2 separate regions of the Homo sapiens genome follow, and region 1 is linked to region 2. The links are contacts of gene promoters, found by promoter capture Hi-C in blood cells and fetal thymus (Javierre and others, 2016). All regions are on one chromosome and are shown on one strand. The core of a region is centred on a gene start or on the middle of the fragment in contact, and the rest is flanking DNA. Distances in the headings are between cores, read along the strand shown.

Evidence for each region. The method cuts DNA at HindIII sites, captures the fragments that hold promoters and counts their contacts. A CHiCAGO score of 5 or more calls a contact.
Region 1: a contact is called between a fragment that was not itself captured here and the fragment with the promoter of NTPCR in region 2, in 1 of 17 cell types (neutrophils). The highest score is 5.6, in neutrophils.

What each region holds. Positions count from the first base shown.
Region 1 is chr1:233,172,296-233,179,416 of GRCh38, forward strand. PCNX2 (pecanex 2) reads right to left here. Exons shown (of 34, transcript NM_014801.4): 16 at 6,771-6,880; 17 at 5,507-5,603. Among named protein-coding and RNA genes, the nearest start is that of PCNX2, 120 kb to the right of the region's middle. RefSeq lists an enhancer at 6,850-7,121. The HindIII fragment of the contact is 2,862 bases long and covers 4,278-7,121 here.
Region 2 is chr1:232,948,241-232,955,001 of GRCh38, forward strand. NTPCR (nucleoside-triphosphatase, cancer-related) reads left to right here and starts at 2,371. Exons shown (of 5, transcript NM_032324.3): 1 at 2,371-2,504. The coding sequence starts at 2,471. It overlaps LOC107985361 (a long non-coding RNA gene), which reads right to left and starts at 3,309. Exons shown (of 2, transcript XR_001738525.2): 1 at 3,088-3,309; 2 at 1-2,916. RefSeq lists enhancers at 2,093-2,192, 2,105-2,646, 2,647-3,186, 4,315-4,814, 4,750-4,959. The HindIII fragment of the contact is 8,064 bases long and covers 1-3,072 here.

The DNA.
Region 1 (7,121 bases), core at 4,459-6,958, 230 kb after region 2:
ACCTTCTAGAAAGGATTTATGTTTGTTTCTGCCATGAGGCGTTTCCAATTGGGTACCACGTTAAATGTCTTCATAAATTGAGGGATTTGGTGCCATCTAGTTGTTTGAACTTGTGCTGCAAATCCATGCAAACTTATGACTTCTCAAGGATTCTCTTATTCTGCTCAATCATGAGGTGAGTCTGCTTGCACTTCCTGGTGTGGAGGGTGGTAGAGCTGACTTCCTGAGGATCATCCTCACTCTGAGAGTGTGGCACTTTGGTGTCCCAGGCTGATGATCCATGGTCTGGCATTGGACACCCACCTGGGCTTCAATTCCTGTTCTCCATAGTTCGAGGTCTGAAAAACAAGGCTTAAGGTCCCCAGGTTGGGCAAATGCTCTTGGGGCAAAAGCAGCTTCCTGCCCTGCTTCCTCCAGGTACTCCTGTTCAGTAAGATTTTAAGCTGATAATTCCTTATTATTTTGTCAGGTTTTGTTACATTCAGGAAGAGTTTTTTTGTATTTTATTCAGAATTTTTAGTTTTAATCAGCAGTAACCTGCCATAATATCAGAAATGAAAAAGTCCCACGTGACTTTCCTCGTTTTCTTTTCCCTCTTCCTCTCTCTCACTTTCTGAAACTCTTAAATCCCTCTCTCATTTACATTGGTGTCTGGCGAGGGACTAGCACATAAGATTCATTTTTCTTTCCCACTGCTAAACAATTACCTCAACACTAGACTCTGAAAATCAATTTTTGATTGTGACATTTAATTTTGACATAATACATTCATAAAAGAGTCTGTCTCCTTTCTGTGTTTTTCTGATCCACTAATCCCATTCTCTGATCTTGGATAGTCTCATACTTTTTTCTGATTATTCAGTCTTCACTCTTTTTTTTTTTTTCTCTTTTTAAAGACAGAGCTTCACTCTTGTTGCCCAGGCTGGAATGCAGTGGCGCGATCTCGCTGCAACCTCCACCTCCCGGGTTCAAGTGATTCTCCTGCCTCAGCCTCCCAAGTAGCTGAGACTAGAGGCATGTGCCACCACACCTGGCTAATTTTGTATTTTTAGTAGAGATGGGGTTTCACCATGTTGGCCAGGCTGGTTTCGAACTCCTGACCTCAGGTGATCCACCCGCCTCGGCCTCCGAAAGTGCTGGCATTATAGGTGTGAGCCACCATGCCCAGCCCAGTCTTCACTCTTAAATCTAAAAGTGCTAAGTTCCTTTTTCTTATGCTTCTTTCTCAAGTTTTTAAAAACTATTAGCTGCTATTCTTCTAAAGGAACCTTAGAATCATTTATCAATGTTGGGAATATAATGCCTTTGGAACTGTTTTGAATTATATGAAACCTACAAATTCATTAGAAAGAATTGGCATTTTATAAATCTCAGCCTTCCTATCCAAAATCAGGTTATGTCTATCTCCACTTATTCAGAACATCATTTACATTTTAATAAACTGCGGTAGTTAGTTTACTTTATTTGTGACACTACTTGTTAGAAATCATTTCCATTATCAATTCAGACATTTTGTTGGTATTGTGAGTTGGATCACATTTTCATAGGTTATTTCTGGTATGTTAGAAAGTTCTTGCTTTTCTAAATTTTCTTTTCTCTGGTTGTATTTATGAATACTCTTATTAATCATAGTTGATTATATAGTATGCACAGAAAAGTTTTATATACACATATAAATCATCATTTTTTTCTTTTTCTCTTTGCTCTTTACTCTTTACTATTTTGCTTTTCATTTTATATATACATAAAACAAATATATAATTTAAATTTTATATATAATATATAAAATTATATATAAATATATTTAATTTGTATATTATATATAATAAATTATATATTATATGTAATATATAACATATTTTATATATTATATAGTATTATAATAAATATGTATTTAATTTATATTATATATTATATAAAAATTATGTTATATATTTAATTTATATTTTATATAAATTATATATAATATGTAATATATAATTTATATTTTATATAATGTAAAATAGCAAACTATTAATATTATTGAATATTGTTTTAGAAGTTCTGGCCAGTGTAAGGCTGCAAAGAGAAAAAAATGAAAAATTTATATATAAATTTATATATAAATTTTTGGATTTATGGTAAATCCGTGCATGTTTAACTAAGAAATATATTAGCTTTTCATATACTGAACATTTTAAATTCACTGTGGCATTTTATATAGTACTTCACACTCCAACTCTCAAAGGAAGCTTAAGAACCCCTGTTCCAACATTCCACATCTAGCAGCATGGGACCAGAAAAATCTAGATATTATAACCAATGATTTAGGAAAAGACTGTTTGAATTTTACACATAAGAATTAAATAGGCTTTTTTTTGTTTCTAGGAACTGAAGAAAATTGATACAGTGAAACAAACAAATCTAAACATAATAAAGGGTGTTGAAAATGACAAAGATATGAAAGTTAAAAGAGTCTGTGCTAATAAGACAAATAGAAAAAGACTAACCAGGTAAACCATTAGCGGAAAGTTTATATCTTTATTAAGTAATGAATTTTGGTGATAAACTTTGTGTGCATAACTTATCTTGCTCATATGCAAATGTATAGGCCCATTGGTATATCTCTGTTTCTAGATCAATGTTTCCTGAAGTGCAATCTGTGGATCACCTAAACAGAATCACCTGGGTGAACATTCTTGTTAAAATGAAGATCCTCAGACCCCCTCACAGGCCAGATGAATCAGAATATGGGCAGAGGGCTAGAAAACTGAAATCTAATGAGGCTCCCTGAGGGGTTCTCATACAGACTAAAACTCAAGAAGAGAGACAGACAGACAGAGAAAATAAGAGCTGGAGACACAGAGAAACAAAATCAGAGACAATGGGAGGGGGGTTTATGCTTGCACAGTGTCACAGAAGGTATTATATCAAACTCTAAAAGCTGAATGTGATATTCCCATTAAAATATTATAATTAGGCCAGAGACTTTTCAGAGAAATGAACACAAACATCTTATTAAATCACCTAACAAGTTATGTGCTCCACACTGTACAAAGCATTTCAAAGGGTATGAAAACCAAGGGAGGCAACACCTAGCCCATCACATCTAATTATACCAATGAAATACTATCAACCTCTGCTGGGCAAATTTCTTGTCAAATTTCCTTGTAATTCCTACCTTTTTTTTAACTGCAATAAATCAGAAAGTAGAAATGCATCTTCATTAGTCATGAAATCAAGGAAGATTGAAGGGCATAGTTTTTCTCAGATATCCATGGGGAGACTTTTGGGTAGACTCTGGGCCACCCTACGGCTTTTACAGAAAATGCTGTAGGAATGTCAGTTTGACCTTCTCCCTGTAAGTCTCCTGGTATAAATATTAGAGGTCAGGTTGTGGATGCTAGGCTTATGTCAAATATTTCTCTTTTTTTTTAAGCTGCCATCTCATCAGGCCCAGCTGCTTTGACTTTTAACCTGCTTTTAAATGTATCTCTGCTCCTAAAATTCATGAACTATGCCCTTACTCATATTAAGTGATTTGTCCTTTGATTCCCTTGTAGTGGAAAAAAAGCCTTAATACTAGTTTGAATTCTGACCACACTCAAAGGCACAAAAGCTGAGTATGAATTTTTTTAAGGCTATCATGTTGGCTGTGAGTCCTGTACGTCGTCTTGAAATGGCAGACTGCAATTAAATTCATCGAAATTCCATGAACTGTACTGAGCACCCACTGTAACACCGGGCACTGGCTCTGTGGATATCAAGACAAATGAGACACAGTCCTGGCTGGATCAACAGACTATTTCTCTTTTCCTTTTATCTGTCATTCCTAAGAAAACCAGGAAAAGTGTGAGTCAAGGACATCAGAGGCTCCAAGCTCAATACTCAGATGTATGGGAGCTTACACAATTAATGAGCATTGTGTTTCAAAGTATGAATGTTTGTAAGTTGATACCAAAGAAACGACATCTGCTAAAAGAACTTTTGAAGCTGTCCAGAGCCCTTATCCTGGTGAACAAGGAAATGGCATCATTATTTTATAGTTGTAGGATTCTCTTGTTCCTTCCTTTCTCTCCTTCTTCCTTTTCTTCTCCCGTGCTCCACCCAGTGTGGTTGCCCCCTTCTCTGTGACCCAGCCATAAGTCTAAAGTCCAAGGGCCCCAAGCAATCGCTATGCAGACATCAACTTTGAAAGAATGCTCTGAACTAAGCATGGTGCTTAGGGGAGAAGATGTGGAGAACAGCTGTGTGTGGACCACATCAGGAGGGCAGGTTGGCTAAACGTTTATCTGACAAGCTTTCATTTGTGCAGAGCCCACCTGCTGTTTGGTGCCAGCAATACACAAAACGGACTGAATGTGATTCATGTGACTATCCTGGCAAACTGCAGCCACCTGAGGGCCACCTAAGTGGCCACACCATGTGTGCACAACAGCCACCATCAAGATGCTCTAGGCTGGGGGCGGTGGCTCACGCCTGTAATCCCAGCAATTTGGGAGGCTGAGGCAGGCAGATCACGTGGTCAGGAGATCGAGACCATCCTGGTTAACACGGTGAAACCCCGTCTCTACTAAAAAAATACAAAAAATTAGCTGGGCATGGTGGCGGGCACCTGTAGTCCCAGCTACTCGGGCTGAGGCAGGAGAATGGTGTGAACCTGGGAGGCGGAGCTTGCAGTGAGCCGAGATCATGCCACTGCACTCCAGCCTGGGAGACAGTGAGATTCTGTCTCTAAAGAAAAAAAAAGATGCTCTAAAGGGCTTGTAAAAAAATAAAGTAAAGGTTCCTCTTCAAAGACTTTCCTCCCCATTTAATTAGGAATAAATAGTAACTTCTCTTAGAAGCAAAATTTATTCAAAGACCTGTGCTAACATTCTTAAATATCTGCTAGCCGTGATAAAGAAATCAATGTACTTTATGTTCTTAGCTCCCACAATTTAGCCTAAATACTTGCTCTGGCATGCTTATACTGGTCCAAGCAAGCATTAGGTCATAGCCTGATCCTCTTCCTTATTTAAAGGTGTTTTTACCTTTCTTAGCATTCCACAAGTTACTTCCTCCTTCCTTTGTTCTCCTCTACCTTTGCCTCTTCTAAAAAGTTCTAAGTTGCTAGCCAATCGGGACAAATATAGAATGTGAGGCCCCATTCCAGCCAATGGAAACCGGACACAGCAGTAAGGTGGATGTGTCAGGTTATAAATGACCCTGTCTCCTTTGTTTGGTGTACTCTCATGGCAAAACTGCTGGCGAGTGTACCCTTTCTGCAGAAAGTATAAAAATGGCCTTGCTGAGTAAGTTAAATTTACTTTCAAGTGATATTCTTTACAGCACCGGAGAGCAAGCGTTTCAAATAGGGCTGCACCTGGCAGGCAGCTCAACAGCCCAGTGTGCCAGGTACCAAGCGAGGTGTATCTTTCTGTCCTAGTCCTTCTCATGTCCACCTGCCTAGAGCTCCATTGAGAGCCTGATCTCTGCTGAAAGATGAGGCCCTCCTATGCTACATTACACAACGCAAATGTCTCACCACTGAATCTTTCATCTTCTTGGGGAGAGGGTCAGCAGCTGACTCTGCCAGATTTTGATGTAAAAATTTAGGAAACAGCCTGCATTGGATGAAGGACCTGAAAGTGGAAAAACACAATACTTCATCAAAGATGTTCCTGGGACAGTGTTTTCGGTAAATAACTTCACCTTAGATCTCACACCCACACATGACAAAAACAAGTGCTCTCTTCATTTAAAAATTTATAATAAAAAGAGGTGCATGTTCAAGTGATCATAAAGATAGTGTTTTGATTTGTAAATTTCATCCTAATGAGAGCAGTCAAGTACCTTAGCAGTATCATTGCCCTCTATTGTCAGCAGTGGGACATGGGGAAGGTCCTCCATCTCTGCTAGCCCACTAGGGCTTCATCTTCACAATTAGCAGCAAAAAGTGAACATTGCACTAATACAATTGACACTAAAAATTGTGTGAACCATGTTTAACTTTTGTTTCCCCCATTTTTCATGCCTTTCACACTACTGCACCTCATGGCCTAAAATTATGGTGTCTCTGGTCTTCAAAGAGTTACGGTTATCTTAAATCAAAATCTTTCATAAATTTAAACAAATTACATAAGATGCTACTGTCAATATCTTAAACTCACTGTGGCATCACATGAAAGATTTCCAGTGCCAGAGTACACGTTACCAAAACTTAAAGATATGATTAAAGGGAAGATTGTAATGTATACTTTCACATTACTAAGCATTACATTAAATACATTTTAACACTTTGGTGCAAATTTCACTTTAAATCCAGAGGACGTTGGCCAGATTGGGAACAACAACAACAACAAAACAATAAAATCAAACAAAATCTTTCTTTTCAGAGGTGCTGGTTTAGTCTCCCCAGGGTAACTGCCTAGAGTAAAGGCAGGGATGTAGTTAATGGATCTAGAGAGGGTATTGTTGAGGAGGCAGCTTCTTACCCAGCTCACCCAAGGGAAAGTCACAACAGGGCTTGGGTGCTATCGACCCTCTGTTCCTGCCACTGTGCATTTTACTCCAAAATCAAAAGAGCAAAACTAAAATGTTTGCTAGATGTTCATTTTTAATTGTTATTAGTTTCTGGCTGGTCCTGTATTTCTCCTTCCCTCCTCTAGTGAGTGACCAGCTAGTTTAATAATGAGAGTCAAATCACAATGGGCAGTGAATTGCTGTCTGCCCATCTCAGTCAGGGCACAAAGCTGCAGGAACTATGCCCCCAGCTCAGTGATGAGAGAGCACAGGCATAGACCACTCACATGAGTACAGATGGGTCACTGCTCTGACGGCTCAGATGGTAAGAAAGGGCGACCAAGAGGCCACAGAAGGCCGAAAACAGTGCCGGGATGTGTTGCATGCTCCACGGTTCCTAAAGAAAAGACATCAGTTAGCCAAGTCACTCCACAGCTGTGTGAATAGCAGGATCTCTATCAGACATTTAGAAATATCCCCAAGGTCCAGCTGGATGGATGAGTTATTCCCATGATTATTCCTGCCCACGGACATATAAGCATCTGGTGGGCACACAAAAAACTCACCTGTTGGTTTATAGACATTGATTTTGATAAGGAACTTTTTGACTAATTATACATACTTATAAGAATAAAACT
Region 2 (6,761 bases), core at 1,121-3,620:
TATTTCTTACAACTCTGGAGGCTGAAGTTTAAGATCAGGGTGCCAACACGACTGGGTTCTTGGGGAAGGCCCTCATCTTGGTTGACAGAGAGCAGTCTTCTCCTCGTATCTTCACATGGCAGAGAGCAGAGAGATAGAAAGCAAGTTTTCTCCCGCCTTTTTCTAAGGGTACTAATCACATTCATGAGGACTCCACTCTAGTGACCTGATTACCTAATTGCTTCTTTAAGGCCCCACACTTTAATACCTTCACCTTGTGGGTTAGGATTTCAACAATATGAATTTTGGGGGGACACAAACATCCGTCCATTGGATGTTGATTAGATAGGAAGCAAAAGTTGGATTCAGTATGGTACAGTACTTTAAGATCCCATTTATTTTAAAATTTGTTTCAATTTATGCCATCTTCTTTTGTTGTTAATCTCTAAGAGATATAAGCTATTTAATTTTTTGTTATTGTTACCTAATAACACATACAGGAAACTGTAGAAATTAAGCATCAAATCAATGAATTTTCTAACAAGAAGATATCCGTGGAACTACCATCCAAATAATTCATTTTCCATGGATAAAGTACATTCAACTATGGAGTCTTTTTTTCTGTTTTGTGAGACGTTGATTCACCATATCTGAATTCCATGTATCTTTGAGCTACTTAAACTGATGCCAGAATTCCAGGCACAGCAACAAAACAAAAGAACCCAACTTCCGGTGAGCCTTGCAAATCCAAACTGCTTTTCAGTGATGGAAAATGCTATCTGATTAACATTTAAAACGAGTACTTTTGATACAAGAGATACATATACTTTTTTCCTTTTTTTTGGAAGCTCCTCCTATGAATTTACTTTACTATATCAACTTTTCACTGTATTCAACATATATGGACTGCAAAATAAATCAAGGTGGAAGGCCCTACATTAACAGTTGGGATAATAAATAGTATACTGTTATAATAATAGAGCATTACAAATGTTGCAGAAATGATGGTGATGACAGCTATATTTTACAAATCCAACTTTGTTTTTTTAGATAATCATTGGACTGGCATATGTCTCAGGCTAAAGGGAAACCAAGAGGTCCATGTGTGGGCAGAAACCAATTAAGTTGAGCACTCACTGAACTGCTTTCTCAGCCAGGATGGGGAACGACTGACTACAAATTAAGCTGTACACATGTTAGACTGAAAGAGTTTACAGGTAAATGTGGCCCAAGGCCACTGCCACGTCATTCGTTGGCCGGAACACTTGCAGTGGTAAAGTGAGACGGAGAAGCTATTTAATTCTTTGCAAGAGGAGATCTTTATACACTTTGGTGTGAAAGTAAAGAGGGAAAACTGGGCGTCCTATGCATGGCTGAGGACGGGAAGCCTGCCTACACCAGTGGTTCTCAACCCTAGCGCACTTCAGGAACTTCCTGGAGTTTAGAAAGAAGAAAAAAGAATACAGGTGCTCAAGACTCGCTCAAGACCAATTACTCATGTTAAACAAGATTTATGGGAGGCCATTGTTTTGGACTAACCTCCTGCACTAGGTCCTAGCAGACTAGACCAAACCAGAATGGAGTCACTTGTGCCAAGTGCCATGTAACCAAACTGAACTTTGAAACAGGCCCGTTTTCCCAAAAAACAGGAGATTGTAGTTAACCTGAGTCAGTACAATAACGAAGTCCAATCTGTTTTAACCCTATAAGGAAAGTAACTTTGAAATACCCACTCTTTGTTTTGTTCTTCAGCCTTTTTTTGCCCATAAAGCCAACCTCCTCTGCACAACTCATTGGAACACTCTATTTGCTTTATGAAATGATCTATTTCTCGATTCTAGATCCTAAATATAAGCCAATTAGATCTTTAAACTAAACTTGTAATTTTGTCTTCTGACACTCCCTATTACTGCAGGTGAAACCCAGGCATCAGAGCAAGTTTAAAACTCCCCAGCTGATTCTATTCTGCAGGAATGTTTGAGAACAAAGTTGGAGTCATTAACATGGCATCCCCCTTTGAGGAATGCTTCCAGGTCACAAACCTTCTACAAAAGGGCTGTCCCGGCAGCCTTGGGCAATTTCAGCTCCTAGGTCCGGAGTCAAGGGGCAGAACTTGGGTGATGGCGCTGACTTGAAGCAGCAATAGTTTAATAACTGACGTTCTCACGCACTTATCTCTGCAAATACCCCACAAAAGCCCTGAACCCAGAATGAAACTTAAGAGACCGTACAACCCGCTCCGCCTATAGGAACTGCCGCGGCACAGGCGCCAATGCCGAGGGCTGAATGCGCAGGCGCGGACCGGGGACTCGGGAGAAGGCGCATGCGTGGTCTTGAGGGCGGTGCTTCCGGTCAAAGCACCGCTTGGGGGCGGGGCCTGCGACACGCGGTGGGCGGGTCCTGAGTCGCGACCCTGGTCCGGACCTGACCTGAATTGCGACCCCAACCTGGACTGCTCCCCTGACCGCAACCCCTACCCCCGCCCACCAGTATGGCCCGGCACGTGTTCCTAACGGGGCCCCCAGGTAACCCTGAGGGGATCCCCACCTCCAAGAGGTCGAGGGGGTGGGGGCGCGCGGGCTGCGGGCGACCTTGTGCTGTCGGGGAGGGTCTCCGGCTCCAGGGCTCCGGCCTCTGAAGTTCCCAATTTAAATGGCGGGCTTGGTAGTCTGAAGAGTTTGTACTCCTTCCCGGAAAACGTGATTTAAAAGACACAGGGCCTAAAGGATTAGAACACACTTGTGAGGGGGTCCTAGACTGGCTTCTTGATGAAGGGCAGAAACCGCAGGGGCCAGCGGCAGCGGTAACTCCTACTGTAGTGTTGACGTTGTGGTCTGCACAAATGGTATTTCAAGAGATCTGCGGCAACCGCGATGTGAAGTGGAGATGTCTAATTTCTGTTGATAGTCACAGGTATTTCCTTACTGTGGGTCTTTGCTACATTGATCGTGCAAAAAAAAAATGGTAAATTTTAGTTGGAGGACAGCGAAACTGAAGTTGTAACCTTTCTTTCCCATCTAAGTTCATCCCCCCACCCCCATCCCCATCTCCATCCCCACGAATTCCCTCCACAGCTGAGGCCAGAGGTGGAGAAGCTTTGGTACCTACAGGAGCCCTTCTCAGACACTCTTGCTTGTTCCTGTCGCTGTCCCCTCCTGATGTCTGTCAGATCCCTCAACCCTGTGGCCTGTGGAGTTCTCATCTGAGAAGCAGGATAGCGTTGAGGTCAGATGAGAGGTGTAGGAGGAGGTGCTTTTAAACCAAGGCGCTACCCATGTATCAAGCATTACTAAAAAGGACAGGTAGGCTGCATCAGATAGGCTAAAAAAAGATAGATGGGCTAAGAGTGGAGAAAGTGATTTCTTCAGCTCCTTTGCAAGGCAAATCTAATTTTGAAGTTTAGTGTGGGTTCAGATATCAAAGGCTGTAACCCTGGATCTAGAATTCTCTTTCACTTTATTTTAATGATTATGTTTAGTTGTAAGTAGCAAAGGCTACAGCTAATATTGCAGACTTTGGGATTTTGTCAGGCATTGGATGGGGGAGTTGGGGAGCAGGGGGTGAGGAGGAGGAGGGTGGTTTGAGAAATGCCTGCTATCTAAAGTCACTCCTAAGTATTGCAAAGAACTGTTTTCTGAAAGTTGGTTTGTCAATCCTTTATTTGAAACTTGGAATGCAGTTTGATACTCAGCAGGCTGACCCCAAGACAACTGTGTGTTTTATTAATGGAGGTGTCCTGTTACCGTGATTGTATTGATGGTGGTTCTTGTTTCTGCTTTATCAAAGTCTTACCTACACGTAGTTGAAAGACTCAAATAATTCTACAGTGTAGCTCTCTTAAACCTGTCCTCAAACCCACGCACCTTTGTCTTTTCTCCTTCTCTTCTTAATGTAGTTACAGCGTAATTTTCATTAGTCAATGTTTACAGTATTATGGCCATGTAAAGACAATCACAACAGAGCCACATAGTAATCTATGATTTCTTTTCCATTTATTTATTTATTTTAGAGACAGGATCTTGCTTTGTCACCCAGGCTGGAGTGCAGTGAAACAGTTATAGCTCACTGCATTCTCAAACTCCTGGGCTTAAGTGATCCTCCCACTTCAACCTCCTGAATAGCTGGATCTACAAGCGCATGCCACCACACCCGGGTATTTTTTTTTTTTTGTAGAGACCTGTCTCTTGTTATGTTGCCCAGGCTGATCTCCAACTCCTAGCCTCAAGTGATCCTCCCATCTGGGCCTCCCAAAATACTGGGATTATAAGTGTGAGCCACCTTACCCATCTTTTTTTTCCCTCTTCTTATTGAGACAGGGCCTCTCTCTGTTGCCCAGGTTGGAGTGCAGTGGCACAATCTTGGCTCACTGCAACCTCCACCTTCCAGGCTCAAACCATCTTCCCACCTCAGCCTCCCTAGTAGCTAGTACTACAGGCATGCACCACCATGCCCTCTAATTTTTTTTTTTTCCTTTTACACATAACTTTTTTCCCCATTAGGAGTTATTGTCAGGTGTTTTTATTTGCCTAGTTTCTTTCTGTTTTCTCAATATGTTCAGACCATCAGGTAAAGTCTCCTCTCAAAGAGGTCACTTTTTGTTGCATATCCTCTTAGTGCCCCTGGCACTTAGCATTTTTTCCGATTTCCAACTGTCTGTACCCATGACTCATCTTGGAGGGCTTTCTCTGGTCCCTGGAGCCCACTTGGCCTGCAAACAGAGCAGGCCAGAAGAGCCAGGGAATTCCTGTGCCCTGGGATTAGCCTTCAACCTGTGATTGGTGAAAGTTAGTTGATAAATTCCCTACTTTCTCACTCCTCAGACAGGATAACTGAGCCACTTGCCCTGACTTGTCCCTTAGGATTCCCCAGGGGGTTGAAGCTCCAGCTGCCCCCAGTGGAACTTGCTTGACAGTGCACCTCATGCTGGTGTCCTTCCCTTCCCTTTCTGAATTTCTTCCCTGCCAGTCCATCATGTTGTCACTGCCCAGGTTAAACTACCTGCACTTGAATCTTTATCTGAGGATCTGCTTAGGGGAGAACCAGAACCAAAATAATTCCAGAGCTTTCTGATCTGTTTGTGCCTGGTATACAGCTATCATCTCGAGGTCTCCTGAAGCAGAGGTCATTTCTTATCCAGACAGCATTGGGGTAGCAGCTTAACTAATGAAGAAAAAATTAACTGAAAGAAGATTCCTAGAGCTGAAGAAGCCAAAAGGGACTTTGCCCAAATGCTTCCTATTTATTGCTCTACTATGTTCTACACAACATACAGTCCCCACAGTATACCCTTTGTGAACAGGAATAGTTACCGTTGCTCCATTTTATCTTTTTCAAAATATAAACGGCAATTTTTGTTAGGATAAGAGTAAGACCCATTCAGTATAAGAATTAAAAAAAACAAGAAAAGTTTAAGGAAGAAAGTGACAATCACAGGGAATTTGAACATCAGAAATCAACATTGTAAATCTTTGTTCTGTATTCTTCTTGACATTTTTTTTTTCTGTAGACACGTACTTGACCATTCTTTAAAAAAAACATAATGGAATGGTTTCTGCTATTAACCTGCTTTTTCCATATATTATTTTCATACATTGTGGTCTATTTTCCATGCTAATAAATACATATAAGCAGTATATTTTTTAATGGTTGCATGGTATTTCTGTGTATTTATGTGCTATTATATACATGGTGCCATGAGTTAACATTCCCTTACAATCAACATTTAGGTTGTTTTCAGTGTTTTGCTATTATAAAGAATGTTGCAGTGAATGTCCTCTTTCACACATTTGTATTGTTGATGTTTCCTGAGGATGAATTCCTAGTCATGAACTACAGGGTGCTGTGGCAGGCGCATTGAAATTGCCCTTCAGAAAAGAAGTAGCAGCTTACACATTCGGCAATGCCATTACTTGCATGAAACAGATTCTTTAGTGACTTTCCTAAAGCAGTTGTTACTGATGGCCAGGGCTGGATTAGAATGTCATCATTTTATGTTCTACACAGTTCTACCAGCTGCATGCTCACTGTGGCTTACTGTAGCCAGAATCCTGTTGTGTTGCTGTTCATGTTCCAGAAAGCCAGGTGCCATTATTTTAATGTGAAGTGTGAAGATAGATACATTAAATAAGAATAATGGATCATATTTTATGTCAAGGAGGCTTAAAAGAGTGGGTAGTCTTAGAAATAGCATGATTTGCAACTCTGTAGTATCTCAAAATAGCTCACTTGCAGACATGCTAGGAGTTTTCTCTCTCTTTCCATTGTTGGGTAGTCATGATGCCACTTACTTAAATCCATATTGGGAACAAGGCTCATATTTTAAAAAGTCATGGTGACAGGTAAAGTCCCCTGTTGAAAGGTATGGACCTTATGAGGGGTATAGCCTTGGGTAAAATACCTAACCACCATGTACCTCAGTTTCTCCATCTGTAAAATATGCATAAGGATGGTAATTGCCTCAGAGGATGGTTGTGAGGACTTAACCAAGAAAATGCTTCCAAAGTGTGCTAGAACAGTGTCTGGCTCCATGACGTCAGTGATGAGTATTACTATATTAGGTAGCACCTGTTGGTGCTTACAAACCAGTGAGTTCATCAGAGTAGTCAGCTGACCAGGCTGGATGGACAGGAAGGATCAAGGTGGGGAGGCTGAGGGGGCAGAGGTACATAGGTTCAAACTGGGGAAGGTGTGGGGGATAAAGGTGAAGAAATGCTTAGAGACCCTGGAGAAGATGATGTTGGAAGGAGTTGCTAACCTGATAGGCTTGCTGTTATGAAAAAGTT